2 separate regions of the Homo sapiens genome follow, and region 2 is linked to region 1. The links are contacts of gene promoters, found by promoter capture Hi-C in blood cells and fetal thymus (Javierre and others, 2016). All regions are on one chromosome and are shown on one strand. Each heading gives the region's core, a stretch centred on a gene start or on the middle of the fragment in contact. The rest is flanking DNA. Distances are from core to core; before and after follow the strand shown. Region 1 holds the start of COLGALT2 (collagen beta(1-O)galactosyltransferase 2). Region 2 has its middle 170 kb from the start of C1orf21-DT.

The links. The method cuts DNA at HindIII sites, captures the fragments that hold promoters and counts their contacts. A CHiCAGO score of 5 or more calls a contact.
Region 2: a contact is called between a fragment that was not itself captured here and the fragment with the promoter of COLGALT2 in region 1, in 1 of 17 cell types (neutrophils). The highest score is 5.8, in neutrophils.

What each region holds. Positions count from the first base shown.
Region 1 is chr1:184,034,884-184,042,357 of GRCh38, forward strand. It overlaps COLGALT2 (collagen beta(1-O)galactosyltransferase 2), which reads right to left and starts at 2,845. Exons shown (of 12, transcript NM_015101.4): 1 at 2,212-2,845. The coding sequence starts at 2,474. RefSeq lists a silencer at 2,568-2,657. The HindIII fragment of the contact is 2,777 bases long and covers 1,463-4,239 here.
Region 2 is chr1:184,217,244-184,224,717 of GRCh38, forward strand. No RefSeq gene overlaps it. Among named protein-coding and RNA genes, the nearest start is that of C1orf21-DT, 170 kb to the right of the region's middle. RefSeq lists an enhancer at 6,190-6,723. The HindIII fragment of the contact is 4,300 bases long and covers 2,665-6,964 here.

The sequences.
Region 1 (7,474 bases), core at 1,595-4,094:
GCATGGAAGTTATTTCCAAAGGTTCTTTACAGCTCCTTTGTGAGCTGAAAAGAACTATTTAGAAACTGGGATTTGTATTATTGTTACCTAAAGAATTACACAATGTTTTAAAGACAGAACCAAAATTTTTCAAAGAAGAGTCTTCAATGACTGACGCAAGCATGGCCTTGCACTTCTTGCTTAACCTGCCAATGCTGGACATAAAAGACAACAGATTTCAAAGGTCTATGCAGAACTGGAATTCTCTCATCTAAGTAAGACACCAGTGTCCATACCATCTGGAACTTACAGGGAACTTAGGATGTACATTGATGCTGGTTGATCCTAATTATATTGCAAAATCTATGGAATTCAAGAGCCATAAAGAATTTTTGAAATCATTTATTCCAACTCCCTCGTTTTATTGATGAGGCAACTGATGCCTATGGATCCCAAGCAACCAGCCCCAAATCACATATCAAACTAGTAATAAACAACTCAAGTCTCCTAATTTGTAGATTATAGGCTTATGTAAATTTTGTTTATATCATGTTTCCTGCCTTTTTAGGGTGGCCTTGGGTTCAAATTCCAGTTTCACCATTTATTAATTCTGTCACTTTAAGTGACTTACTGAACTGATGCAAGTCTGTCTCTTTCTTTGCAAAATAAACATCATAGCATCCTCTTAAAAGTTTACTGTATGATAAAAAGAGGTAATGTCTCTAAATCAGGTAGCAAAGCATGTGCCTGACACCTGCTTCACCACTCACCAACTTCTTATGGTAAATACTGTAACGTTTTAAAAAACTAAATCATGCATAAAGATCAAAACCATATTTTAAAATATCTCTTAAAAAAAACACAACAACTAAGGTAACTGATATGTGTGAATTTCTTTTGGTACCGAAGTGGTTAAAAAAAAATCCTTCCTTCTGGTTTAAAGCCTGGCTGTCCCAGTGCTCTCTTTCCACATAATATGCCCTTCTCCGCCAGGCGGTCACGTATGGCAGGGTATATAGTAAAGCAGTGTACAGCACAGAGCTGTACTATATCACATGTTTGCTTTCGCACCTTTGCACCTCTCCCACCAGGTACTCTGAGGCTGCCAATTCTAGCTGCTGCTTTTACTCCTCTTCCTCTCTTTGCCCAACCGCTGCTTTAAGGATGTGTCTCGCCTGAGAACAGCTCCCTTTATCAACACAAGACAGAAATTGCTCCAGAGTGACCTGGGCTCTGTCTTCCTCAGGGGGCCAGAGTCTTCTTGTCCGAGTACCTACCTGACAGCACATCTCCCCTGGCCAGCATCCACCTCCTTGTCCTCCACAACCCACTCAGCGGCTAACCTGGCCACCAACTAACTTCTCGCCCTCGGATCCTCGCGTTTATAAAAGGTGCGAGACGACCAAGTTCTACAAGGTGGGGCGGGCAGGCACCCGCACTTATCCCCTGGCCCTCCCCGCAGCAGACACAGGGACCAGGTCCAAGCTTCTTTCCTCCGGGGACAAAACTTGGCTGTTTATCTTTCCCAGGGCATCTTCGTCTCTCCCCGGGACGTGGAACCCCGATGCACCGGCAGGGACAGCCCGGAGCGCTCGCAGGAGACCAGGCCCACGGTGGTGCCATGGTTGGGCACACTCCGCGGGCTCCGCCCAATCTCCACCCCTAGGTCCAGGTCCCCCTAGGAGAGCTAGGAGCACATTTCCAGCCTGGAGCAGGAGCCCGGCACCGGAAAGTCAGAGCAGCGCACTGCGGCGCCCCAGCCACTGCGGAGCCCCTGGCCAACCGCAGTTACGTTCCATCTGTCGTATCTACATGGGAATACGGCGACAGGCACCCTATCCCCTCACGTCAGGGCTAGCAGTATGAGGTGGGGAAAGAGGAAACCTCGAGAGTTAAAAGCGAGGGAACTGAAAGTCCCCTTGAGGGGTGTCCCCCATGCCCCTTGTGGGACAAAGCCCCAATTCGCAGGCTACCCTCCAGAGCTCCAGCGGTCCGGTTCTCCCCATCAGCACCCTCTGCGCACACTGACCCGCGCGTCCCTCCGCAGCCTGACCGCCCGATCCGCCAGCCACCGGCGCGGGCAGCGAGGGGGTGTGTGCGCCAGATTTTCCGCGTGCCCCCCCGCCCCTCCAGCGGCTCCCTCGCCCTGCAGCTGCTGCTCCGGGCGCTGTCCGCGCTGGGCAGGCCGCCCCCGCGTCCCGCCGCGGCGGCCCGGGGCCCGTGCGCGCTCACCAGATGGCCATCCTGCTCTTGGGGTAGTCCAGCCGCTCCAGGCAGCCGAGGAAGTGCGGCAGCGTGTGCGCCGCGTTGCGGGCGAGGACCGCCACGAGCACCGTGGGGCTCTGCAGGGGCGACTCCGGGAAAACCACCGGCTCCTCTCCGTCGTCCTCCGAGTCCCGCTCGGCGACGAAGCGCGCTCGGCAGCCTTCGCGGAGCAGGGCTGAGGAGAGGAGCAGTAGCGACCAGGCGAGGGTGGCAGCAGGGCGCGCAGCCATGTTCCGGGCCGAGGCGGGCGGCGGGGAAGTCCTGGCGCGAGCGCCCGGCTGGGCTGCCTGAGGGCGGCGGCGGCTGCCGGGGAGCAAGGGGCTGCGAGGGGCGGCCGGGGGATGCGGCTTGCCGCGGCCGGCCGGCTCACACACTGGCCTCGGCGGCTGCGGTTCCCAGGACCCTCCCGCCGCCGCTGCACCGCCCAGGCCCCAGTGCGGGTGCGCAGCGTACCTGCAGCCGCTGGCGCTCCCCTGCGCCTCGGGCTCGCAGACAGTAGTGGCCGAGGGGCTGTGTGCCCTGAGTCCTGAGGAAAGTTCCTCTAGTCCAGGTTCCGCTCGTACAGCTGAGGTCTGTGGCCTTCCCTAGAGCCGCGAGTTGTGGCCCTGTCTGCCAATGAGCCTGTGAGTGTGTGTGTGTGTGTGTGTGTGTGTGTGTGTGTGTGTACATAACGGTACAACCCCAAGAAAATTTATTCTGCTTTTGCAAACCGCAGACTGAAGCCCTTCACAGTGATGCAATGTATCCAGTTTTCATAATGCACCTATTGACTGAGTAGAGTTCTAAAATGAAAAGTCTCCCCAACTATTCACGATTATGACAAACACTTGTTTAACCACCGCAAAGGCAGCATGTCGCATTTTCTTATATACTCAACTTCTGAAATTCATTCTTGACTGAGTAGACACCTAATAACACAAAGTTTGAAGACTTGGAGAATTTTGGAGCCAGATCAGACCCCGCAAAATAAAAGAAAGCCCTTGGGAGACACTGTCCTGAAGCCTCACTCTACTGTGAACCCAGTAAGCCTCCTCACAGGAGGGCTGTGAAAGAATAAATTCACTTAGCTGGTTTTCTTTTTCCGTAATAAGCCAATATGATAGAGTAACAAAGAGGGAAAATTCGCGCATGTTGGAGAGCAGAGAAGAGATAAGGAAGAAAAGAAGGGGTGAAGGAAGAACACAATTAGCACATAAAATGAAACTGCTGGCATACACTGCTAAAGGAGATTTACTTTTTTTTTTTTTTTTTTTTTGAGACAGGGCCTCACTCTGTTGCCGGGGCTGGAGTGCAGAGGCACGATCACAATTCACTGCAGCCTCGACCTCCTGGGCTCAAGCAATCCTCCCACCTCAGCCTCCCGAGTAGCTGGGACCACAGGTGTCCATCACCACGCCTAGCTAATTTTTTTTTTTTTTTTTTTTTTTGTAGAGACGGGTTTTCACCATTTTGCCCAGGCTGGTCTGGAACTCCTGGGCTCAAGTGATCTGCCCAACTCGGCCTCCCAAAGTGTTACGATTACAGGCATCAGCCACCATGCTCGGCTGGATATTTAGTTTTGAAGATATATTGTGTAGCCTTTGATAGATAAGTATGGAGGGTGTTTTGGTGCCAGTGCACATTCATGATCTCCAATCCCAACTCACCCTCAGGTCTGTCCCATAGTCTTTTTATTAGTTGTTATCAATCCTTCTCAGCAACTATTAGAAGTCTTCCCTACTGTCTTTTGAAGTATATCACCTCCTTCATCCAGCTCCCCCAACACCACTGTCTCCAACTAGCATCCCTACCAAGACCTTTCTTACTTGCAGGTGCCTCCTCACGACAGGGTCTTTGATCACAGACTAGAAAGGGAGAGGTCTCCCTTTCTAGCCCATGATTTTTCTCTATCATTCCACTCTCTACTGAATCTTCAACTGATCTCTATCAACTCCTTTCTCTCAAGCTAAATACTTGGTCAGTCTTCTCTTATCCGTTAAAAAAAAAAGAAAGAAAAGCTTTAAAAAAAAGTCCTGTGTCTTCTTCTAGTCATCCCTTTGCTTGACCAAGCTCCTTGGAAGAGAGATCTATACTTGTATTCTCCACTTCTTCATCTCCCATCTTTCCCACCACAGTGCAGTAAGGCGTCAGCCCTCCCCACTGTTCTGCAAAACCAACAGATGGCCTCAGCATTGGCAGATTCAGTAAACTCTTCCGTTCTCACCTTCCTGGACTTCGATTACATAATCTCCCATCCTAGATCTCCTCTGATACTACTTGTCTCTGAGCCAAGCCCCTTCACTGTGTGCCTCCCTATAGTGTGCTAGTCTTCCCACTCCATATGGTCTCCTGTGGTTATATCCTCAAAATCTATGTCTTCTGCTCTAATCTCTTCTCTAATCTTCATATTTTTTTATCGAATGGCCTACAGACATTTCCTTCCCCTCCATCCATTTTCAGGAATTGTTCCCACTTTCAAGGGGCTCACAGTCTTGTAGGGAAGACTGAGAGTTAAACATCTGTTAGAAGTACTGTAACAGATGTACCAGCTACAGTGAAGGGATAGAGGAAGATGTGGTCATTTCCACAAGGGAGGTAGTGATGGGACTGTTAGAAAGGTCCAGACAATCTCCATGTTGTTCTGTCTTTCTTGTTTCCCTTTCTTGAACTATGTCCCACTCATCTTTCAATACTAAAATCCGCACTCCTTAGCCAAACTTGGTTTGATAGTTATCATTTGTTCACTTTACTGCAAACAGAGGGAGTTTAAAGCTAGGCAACCACATTTCTGTCTTATTTTCCTTCTGTTACTGATATGGTCTGCCTATGTCCTCACCCAAATCTCACATCGAATTATAGCTCCCATAATCCCCACGTGTCGTGGGACGTAATTGAATCATGGGGGCAGGTTTTTCCCATGCTAGTCTCGTGATAGTGAATAAGCCTCACAAGATCTGATGGTTTTATAAAGGGCAGTTCCCCTGCACATGCTCCCTTGCCTGCCGCCATGTAAGGTGTGTCTTTGCTCCTCCTTTGCCTTCTGCCATGATTGTGAGGCCTCCCCAGCTATGTGGAACTGTGAGTCCACTAAACTTCTTTTTCTTTATAAATTACCCAATCTCAGCTATGTCTTTATTCACAGCGTGAGGACAGACTAATACAGTTACCTAAAGTCAACAGCTTATCTGAGTCTATTTTTTCAAAGAAAGGTGAAGCATCTAAACCTGTATGGTCTCTAATGACATTATAATGAAATCGGCTCCATGGAGTTCTCTTAAAATAACTACAACCTGCTCTGCTCTGTAGATGAAATCAAGGGTTTCCCAGCCACATAACCTACAAAACACCTATTTAAAACTTTTAATTGAGTGCTCATTTAGTGACTGAGAATATTAAGGTAATAACAGGGTATGCAACAGTAGAAGATCATTGTAAATATGGTTGGGAGGCAGTGGAGGGGAAGCCTGGGAAAAATTAAGTCCCCATCTTACTAACAGATTTGTTTCATAAGTTCTTCAGAAATCAGTAATGTGAATTTGGATGTTTCCCCCCCGCATAGGATTGATGTTATAAGACAGTTAATTTGAAAAAAAAAACTAATTTAAAAATAAAAGCCAATTATATTTTAAAATATTCATTGCTTATAATGCTCTTTCCATGGAAAATCGGCTGAATGGAAAGTCAGGGTTGTACACACATATCTCTTTGTCTCCACTGCCAGTAGACTGTTCCAATTGATTCTACATAAAGTTAGAAGTAAGCACTTTCTCTCATATCCCCTCCCCATACTGTTCCAGCACAGGGGACTTCCATCTGGGACAACAAAACCTCTTGGACTGTCACCCTTAGTGCAATGTGGTGGGGACAGGGCCTATGAGGTGGCCAGAGGACTTCTTGCAGGAAAGCTTCTCAAGATGTCTGTGGCTCCAGCAGCCCAGAAGAGGAGGAAATAAATGCCTCTGGGGCAGCTGTGATAGGCTTGAAAGAGCAACTGACACTTGGAGCTGAATTTTCATTTCACTGGTGTCACTTATTCTCTTTGTGACCTTGGAAACTTGACCTCTTTGAACATCAATTCCTTCCTAGGTAAAAAAGTTTTAAATGCTTGCCTCATTTTTTCATTCAACAAACATTTATGAAATTGCTAAATGCCAATCATTTGAGTGTTGAATATTTGAATGCTTCTCCCTTGGAAAAACAGGGAGAAAGTGGCCAGCCCCTCGTAAGTCCTGCTGGGCCATAGTTGGCAGAAAGAGTCTCTTGGCTGAATTATCCAGGCTTCTTTCTTCTGTACTGAAATATCTTTCTTTCACTACCTGGTTTGTTTTACTCGCTTTTCTGATCCATCCTAAAATCCTACAATGTAAAATGTACTTGAATTGACAATTCTGCCAATTTCAACATGAAAATCCTTGAGAGAGGAGCATTAGATGATATCTTTTTAATTCAATCAGATTTTTAAATCTTATCACCTAAACTGAAATGGCCTATAAGAAGTTTTGATAAAGGGAACTGAATGGGATCCTAATTTGAAGCATGGGTCTCTTTGGTGACAAAGCAAGTTTTATGGATTTCTGATACGTAGGCCCGAGGACTCTGGGTCCTAGGAAGGGAATTAATATTAAGGGAGAAAAAGAGCAGTGACTGAGGTGGGAAAGGCTAAAATTAAACTACGTCAGTGTCAAAGTTTTGTCTATGCTCTGGCTGCATCCAAGAGCTATAGAATAGTCACTACGGAGGAATGTTTTCCAATTCAAAACAAGTTTATACAAATGTAAACTACACTTCTACGTCTCATTTAAGAATAGATGCATCCCTTAAATTATATTAACTCATTCCTTCAAACACTTGCTCAATGCCTACTCTGTGCCAAGATATAGTTGCTGGAAATGCATGAATAAATAAGATGTGTCATATAAATGCACAAATGCTATAAGTCATTTTATGTCTTATGATGGAAAAAGGAGCATAAGTAAGGAAGTGGGGAAGTGGAGATAGCTAGGAAATGTTTAATTAAAGAGATGTCTTTGAATTGAGCATTGAAAAATAAGTAGCATGCATGGACAGGAAGAATTAATATTTTTAAAATGGCCATACTACCCAAAGCAATTTACAGATTCAATGCTATTCCTAAACTACCATTGAGATTTTTCACAGAACTAGAAAAAAACTATTTTAAAATTCATATGGAACAAAAAAGAGGCTAAATAGTCAAGGCAATCCTAAGCAAAAAGAAAAAAGCTGAAGGCAT
Region 2 (7,474 bases), core at 3,565-6,064, 180 kb after region 1:
AAATCTGATTGCATGAAAGTTATGTTTAAAATTTCCTTTTAATGAAAGATACCATAAACAAAAATTAAAGGTAAGCCCAAGACCAGGAGAAAGGATAAGAAATACAAATATTTGATAAAGTCCTAGAACCTGGATTTTAAAAAGAGCAACTCAATAATGAAAAAAAAGAAGCTGGCAAAACATAGGTTAATGTTTAATAGTTGTTAATTGTCAATAAATACATGAAAAGATGCTCAAGGTCCCCAGTAACTAATAAACTACAACTACAACCACAATAAGACACCATTGCTCACTCATCAAGTTAACTGAGAATTGAAAAGTATAAGCAAGAGTCTAGATAGGTGAGAATTCTTCCACATTACTTTGAACTTAGTTATAATCACTTTGAGCTAGAGGCTCCACCTCTGGGCATATAATCTCATGAAACTCTGTCACATCTGCAGAGAAGGTGTATAGAAGAATGTTGACTACAGCATTATTAGCAATAGAACAAAATAAGAGGAAACGAACTGACCATCAACAGTAGATAAATAAGCTGTGCTATAGCCATATAAGTATAATGAAATTTTGTGTAAGAACTGAAATGAATGAACTAGGATTACATGTATCATTAACATGGGTAAATCTCAAAAATAATGAATTTTAAAAAACCAAATTACAGAAAAATAGGTACAATAGGACACCTTTTGTATAAAGTTTGAAAGCATATAAAACAGCCTATTTGTTATTTATGGATTCACACATAAGACACATATGTGAAGAGTAGTATAAAGCATGAATAGGAATGGTAAACATGAAATTTAACATGATGGTTACCTGTAGGGTGGCTTAGAGGAGGAGCACGTAGGAGGCTTCAATTACTTTATAGTGTTTTATTATTTTACAAAATCTAAAGCAAATATGTCAAAATGTTAAGATTCAATAAAGTTAGATGGTGGGCAGACAAGTGTTTAATTATGTTATTTTCTCTCACGCTGTACGTATTTACAGAATTTTGTAATCCATTTTAAAAGATTCTAAATTGTCCTTTACTTCCAATACAAAGAAAGATGAAATTATAACTATATGCTGTTAAAGTTTTGATGTATGGCCTGCCACCCTCTTTCAACAGCCCTGGACAACTATTCCTAGTACTTAGCACAGTGCCTGGCCCCAGAAGAGTAGACGGAAAGAATAAAAGAATGAATGGACCTGTCCTTGGAAATAGAGGTGTGGCCACATGTACGCTGTGCCCTTTCTGTCATTAAATCACACTTTCCTTTCCAACCATCTCACTCAGCCTGAGTTGCCATCCAGTGTAATGATTCAGGGTAATTGTGCTTAGGGACGATTGCTAGTGGGATAGCAAGGAGTTGCAATTCAGCCCTGGCTGTGCTCTGAATTCATTAGTGAATTCATTTTCCAGCTTCGTGTCCTGCTCAGAAGAATGATCCTCTCTCCAAGCAGGGCATTGCTGTCTTTCTCATACTTAGCAATAACAACCAAAAACAAACCCAAGGAAATAAAATCACCAGGGAGGCTTTCCTCTTTAATTAAGGAGTTCTAATGAGTCACAGTCTCACCATGCATGGGACTCAATTATCCTTTATAAATAGGGGATTGTGAATGTGGGATGTGTTTTCTTTTGCAGCCCTGCTGCTATTTCTCCTTTGTTTCCTTCTCCTGGTGCTGCTGCTTCTCTCTGTACACGTGTATGCACATATGTGAAATTGATGACATAAAGAAGATCCAAATCTCTTCGCCTAGTCAACTTGAAGTTGTAAGATTCCTTGAGTGTCATTGAGAAATGTAATAGGGAGTGGGTGGCTTGGCTGGTAGCTTAAATGGTGCCAATGATTGTAAAGTCATAGGTACCATCCCCCAAAAGCCAGAATGATTTCCTCTGTTCTGCTGACACAGAGAGCATCACAAATCTTGGCAAATATATCATTGGTTACATGGTTGATCAGACAAGGCAGGGAGGAGTGAATCGTGTCAAATGGACCACCACCACTGAAACTCAAACCTGCCCCCACGCTGGTGATTTTTGTGGATTCCTTTAAGAGGAATGGTGAGTGTCTTCTAAGAGTAAGAAGGGTTAGCAGTGTTCCAGCTTACCTACAAAATGTGAAACTGAGAAAGCCCACTGGGGCGACTTCCATCTTTATTGCTAAAGAGTAAGAAATAGAGACTTGGTCATTCTCACTGTCATTTTTGTGATTTTTCTGAACCTGAAGGTATATAATGAGGAAAAATGAGACAAATTCAAGCAAAGAGAAATTTGGGCAGAATCTCTGGAGGGAAAAATAATCATGGTGAAATCCATTAGACTACGTAATAGTCATCCCCAAGGGGGATGACGTAAGCCTCATAGTTGCAGTCATTTAAATGTAGACTGAACCATGCATTTGTGAGCAGACCCCAGGGAACAATCCTGCATTGCACAGGGGATAGGGAAAGCGATAGGCCAGATGACCTAATAGATCTTCTGTAACTTAATTTCTAGGGTTGTGGGATCCTAATTAAAATGAACTATATTGCCTGTTATGAACCCTCCATGTTAATATTCTGTAAGGTCTCCAGGCAAGTCAAGGGGGTCTTGGCTTTTTCTTATTTCTTTTGAGCCAGAACCCACAGGCTGCCTTAAGCACCTAGCTGCTGTCCATCACTTCTTATAGCTGACAAAGCTTGACTTAAAAAAAAGTTTTTAAAGAAAATTACAGCACATATTATGAACTAACATTTTATACAAATTAATTGAGTGAAATGAGAGAAGTATGCTTCATTCTTTGACCTGTGATAATAAATATTCTTCCGGTCAATAACACGACGGTGAGTCAGCCCTGCGATGGAGGCAGTTGTCGCCATATAACACACAGGACTCCAATCTGCTTCCTCACATCTAGTGCTGACTTTTCCTTTTAGCTTTAATGATGTTTGAAAGGGAATATTGACGCTGGAAAAATCTTAGAGAGGCTCCACCAATCACAGACGAGCGCAATTCTCCACTAATGTGGGCCTCTTTTCCTTGACTTCCTCTAGACATGGAACTCCACTGAGGATTCTCAGGCAGGGCCACTGGCGAGCTGGCCAGAGCTGCTCTGAGAACCACCAGTGAAGGGCAGAGGGCACTTTAGCCCCAAAAGTAGTAGCAGTTTAGGGCAGGTGGAAGAGACGGGTGGTTCAATTGCCCCATGTGGCGTTTCAGGTGGGCCACATGGGTCAATTGAGTCTTATCAACTTGTGTCTTATCTAGCAATTGAATGCCATTGCTAGATAAGAGTGGTGACCTCCAGCTGGTAAGTTATTTTATCAGCCTTGTCCCATCCCAAGGATCCCCAAAAAGGCCACAGAACTCTGCCAGCAGGAAGTAGACACCGGTGTGCATCAGAGAATATCAAACTCTACCTATTTTAAATTTATAAACTGGATTCTAATTAGCCTGCAGGGAGTTTCCATGGAAATTGGAGATATCACTTTGCAACAGTATAAGATCACAGCATCAAGTAGACGGGAAAAGTGGAAAATCTCTATTCTTTTAGGAATCAGCTGGAGTCACCTCGCTATGAAATTGTCCCTGACCCAGGCAGATTCCAGGTGTTCCCACTTCCATTACAGTATTTGTAGTATGTAATTGTCAGTGTACATATCTACATCCCGCAGACGGGGGAGACACTGTCATTGTTTCTGTTTTTCTCCAGAATATGGCTCAGTTCCTGATACAGAAGACACTTAAAAACAACAACAACAACAACAAAACTTGTTCGATTATTACAGTGATGTCTTAGAACATTGGTTTCTTCATCTATAAAATGGCATAATAATACTAATTCAGTTGGCTGTTCTGAGGATTAAATGCCAGAACAAATAAGTACTTACAACAATGCCCAGCTCCTAAATAATGTGTAGTTCCTATCCCCGCTTATCTTGTGTGAGAGGATTATTTTTGGTTTTGATAGGTATCAGGCAAAAAGGGTTTTTTAAAACAGCAAATAAATCAGAATATTCCACACTTGTAGTCTGCATTTTGTGTTGCCATTTGATTGGGTTTCTAGACTAGGCCAGCATTTTATATTCTGTAAGCATGGTAGAGGTTATATTATCTCCAGCCCCAAATCTTGGACATTAAACCTTTTCCTCATTGCTCACTCGGCTAGATATACATTATTAATAAATGAGATTTCTGAGATGTTTAGACTTGATTCTAAACATTCATGAAATAAACTTGGAGAATGAGTAACTATCATCAGTGATGATAAAAATGAGCTTGGGAAGATACCCTGTGTGTTGATTCTGATGAGAATTTTACCTTTATTGGACACCAGAATATTTCCAGGTATTCCCTGAAAACTCCCCTAGAGATGTCTTAACTCTTCTTTGATGGTTAATATTAAGTGTCAACTTGATTGGATTGAAGGATGCAAAGTATTGTTCCTGGGTGTGTCTGTGAGGGTGTTGCCAAAGGAGATTAACGTTTGAGTCGGTGGACTAGGAGAGACAGACCCACCCTCAATGTGGGTGGGCACCATCTAATCAGCTGCCAGCATGGCTAGAATGAAGCAGACTTGCTGAGTTTTCCGCCCATCTTCTTTCTCCCGTGCTGGATGCTTCCTGCTCTCAAACATCAAACTCAAGTTCTTCAGCTTTTGGACTCTTGGACTTACACCAGTGGTTTGCCAGGGACTCTCAGGCCTTCGGCCACAGACTGAAGGCTGCACTGTCAGCTTCCCTACCTTTGAGGTTTTGGGACTCAAATTGGCTTCTTTGCTCCTCAGCTTGCAGATGGCCTATTGTGGGACTTTACCTTGTGATCATGTAAGTCAATTCTCCTTAATAAACTTTCCTTTATATATACATCTATCCTATTAGTTCTGTCCCTCTAGAGAACCCTAATACACTTTATTTTTACAAAACAAGAAGTGCTTATAGAATGACTTTTCAAGGAGGTTTATGCGATCAAAACACACTACAGTGTGATGCTGGGTTTGCAGGGCGACCATGGAACTGTTGGGCAGAAACTCACATATAGAATAGCCTGCTACCAACCAAAGCCAGGTTTCATCTTTCCCACCAGCAGAATCCACCTCTTCCAAATCCACCCACATCATTGCATGGCCTGCAGGTAGGCTTTTCAGCTTCCTCTGATTGTCATACCAGGCACTGGGCCTATAAAAAGCAAAGCGGAGGCTGAGAGGAGGCAGAGGCAAACACTGAAGGTGTTTCAGAGGCCTATTCCCCCTGTGTATGGTGAGCACAGCACCTGGCAATGGATCGGGCTCTCCCACCCAAGCCCCATGCCCACTCTGGCCCCTTACCCCTCAGCCTTGGTGCCCTGGGTTCCCTAGTTCTTCTGTGGCCTCGACTCCCAACTGTGTGAAACCTGCATTGTCTTGGAGTCAGTGAGCTACTGCCTTCTCTATTTCCTGCTTTTAATTCCAGTTGACTCTTGACTTACAATCATGTATTCTTACTGGAATTGCCTCCCTGAAGGGCAGAAATTCCCTTTCTCCTGCTCTTTTGCCCCATCTGCCCTCTGCTGGCCATCGATAGGTACTGCGGTCAACCCTGAAAAGCCGTTTTTCCCAGTAGCATGTACCGAAGCTGTTTGCTCTTTCCTAATTCAGACGCTTTCTTTTTCTTCTTTTTAAAATTTTGGTTGCATTGCCTCAGAGTTTTTCAAAGCAACACGGAAACACCCTTTCTCTTTCCATGTCCCCAGTGACCATGTCATGGATCTGCCGTAAAGCATCTCTTACAGTAGTGGTCTCCAACCTTTTTGGCACCAGGGACCGGTTTCATGGAAGGCAATTTTTCCATGGACCAGCGGGGTGTGGGGATGGTTTCGGGATGATTCAAGCCCATTACATTTATCGTGTGCTTTATTTCTGTTGTTATCACATTGTAATATGTAATGAAATAATTATATAACTCACTGTAATGTAGAATCAGTGGGAGCCCCTGGCTTGTTTTCCTGCAACTAGAAGGTCCCATCTAGGGGTGGTAGGAGACAGTGACAGATTTCCAGGCATTAGATTCTCATAAAGAGCCTGCCATTAATCTACAGCATCAGTGTTACGCTGTAGAATGGTTCAGAATCTTAGCCACCGAGATCCCTCGCATGCGCAGTTCACAGTGTGGTTCATGCTCCTATGAGAGCCTAATGCTGCCGCTGATCTGACAGGAGGCGGAGCTCAGGTGGTGATGCTGGCTGGCCCACACTCACCTCCTGCTGTGCAGCCCGGTTCCTAACAGATACCAGTCCGTGGCCCTGGGGGTTAGGGACCCCCGTCTTACAGCATCCAGCGGGGCCAGGCACTTGGTTAAGTAGATCCTTGATGACTGAAACGTGACAATGCTGAAATGGCTGTGGAGTACTGTTTGGAGTTTGTGGGGGTGGGGTTTGTAAACTGGAGAACTTTATGTTAGAGTTTCTTATTATTGACATTTGAGGCTAAATAATTCTTTGTTGTCTGAGTCTCTCCTCCACGGTGTAGTATGTTTCGCAGCACCTCTGGCCTCTACCCTCCACGTGCCAGTAGCACCTTCCCCAAGTTTGTTGTCCTCACAGACAACCAAAAATGTCTTCTCTACTCACTCCCAAATGTCCTGGGGGGGCAAAATCACTCACTGCGGAGAACCATGGCATTAGGGTGATGGAGTAGAAAGCCTGCTCTACTCAGAAGGACTTCTAAGTGCCAGAAGGTGCAGGTCTGCTCTCTGGGGCCACTCAGTGCTTTGAAGGACACCTGATTTATTTTGGAGATGGACACTTAACTGCTGAATACACTGGCATGGGTGGGTGGTCCCATCGAGAGTTTTTCTCAAAGGTTTTCAATGACTCCTCTTGTGTTCTCTGGCCTATCCTACTCCAGCTCTCAATTCTGCTAGGCTTGAGTTCCAGCGTCAGAGCCTTTCTGAGCCTCTCTTCTCAGTCTTAGCCTCCCCTCCTTCCCTCTCTCTCCACCCACCTTCTGGCCGTCTGGGAAGCTTCAGCTTCATCCTGCTTCCCCAGCACTGCTCCTCCATCCACCTTTTTTTCTTCCATAGATTCGTTAAAAACATCTTGTCTGAAGGCAGTTCTCCCCTTTCTACATCACCATGGGTTTTTTTTGCAGAATTTTCTTCCATTACAATCACTGATTGTAATCAATTCTCTTTCCCCCAGGTCTCTGCCTCCTCTCTGTCAGGAAGGAGAGAGAGAAGTTAACCACACAGAACTGACCACCCTCTTTACCCAGAAGGAGCTGATCAGCCATCTTTAGGCAGAAGGCTTCCTCCAGCTGCACCCAGATTCCCCTTCTGTCTCCCACAGCACCCTGGGCTTACTTCTCCAGATCATGTAACACCCTGTGCTAAGATTGTTTATCTCTTGTCTGACTTCTTGAGTGGATCATAAGCTCTTTGAATGCAGGCATTGTGTCTTCTCACTCGCAACATCTCCAGTGTTGAGGACAGAAGTGCCCACAGTGCATAGGATATACTCAATAAAGGATTA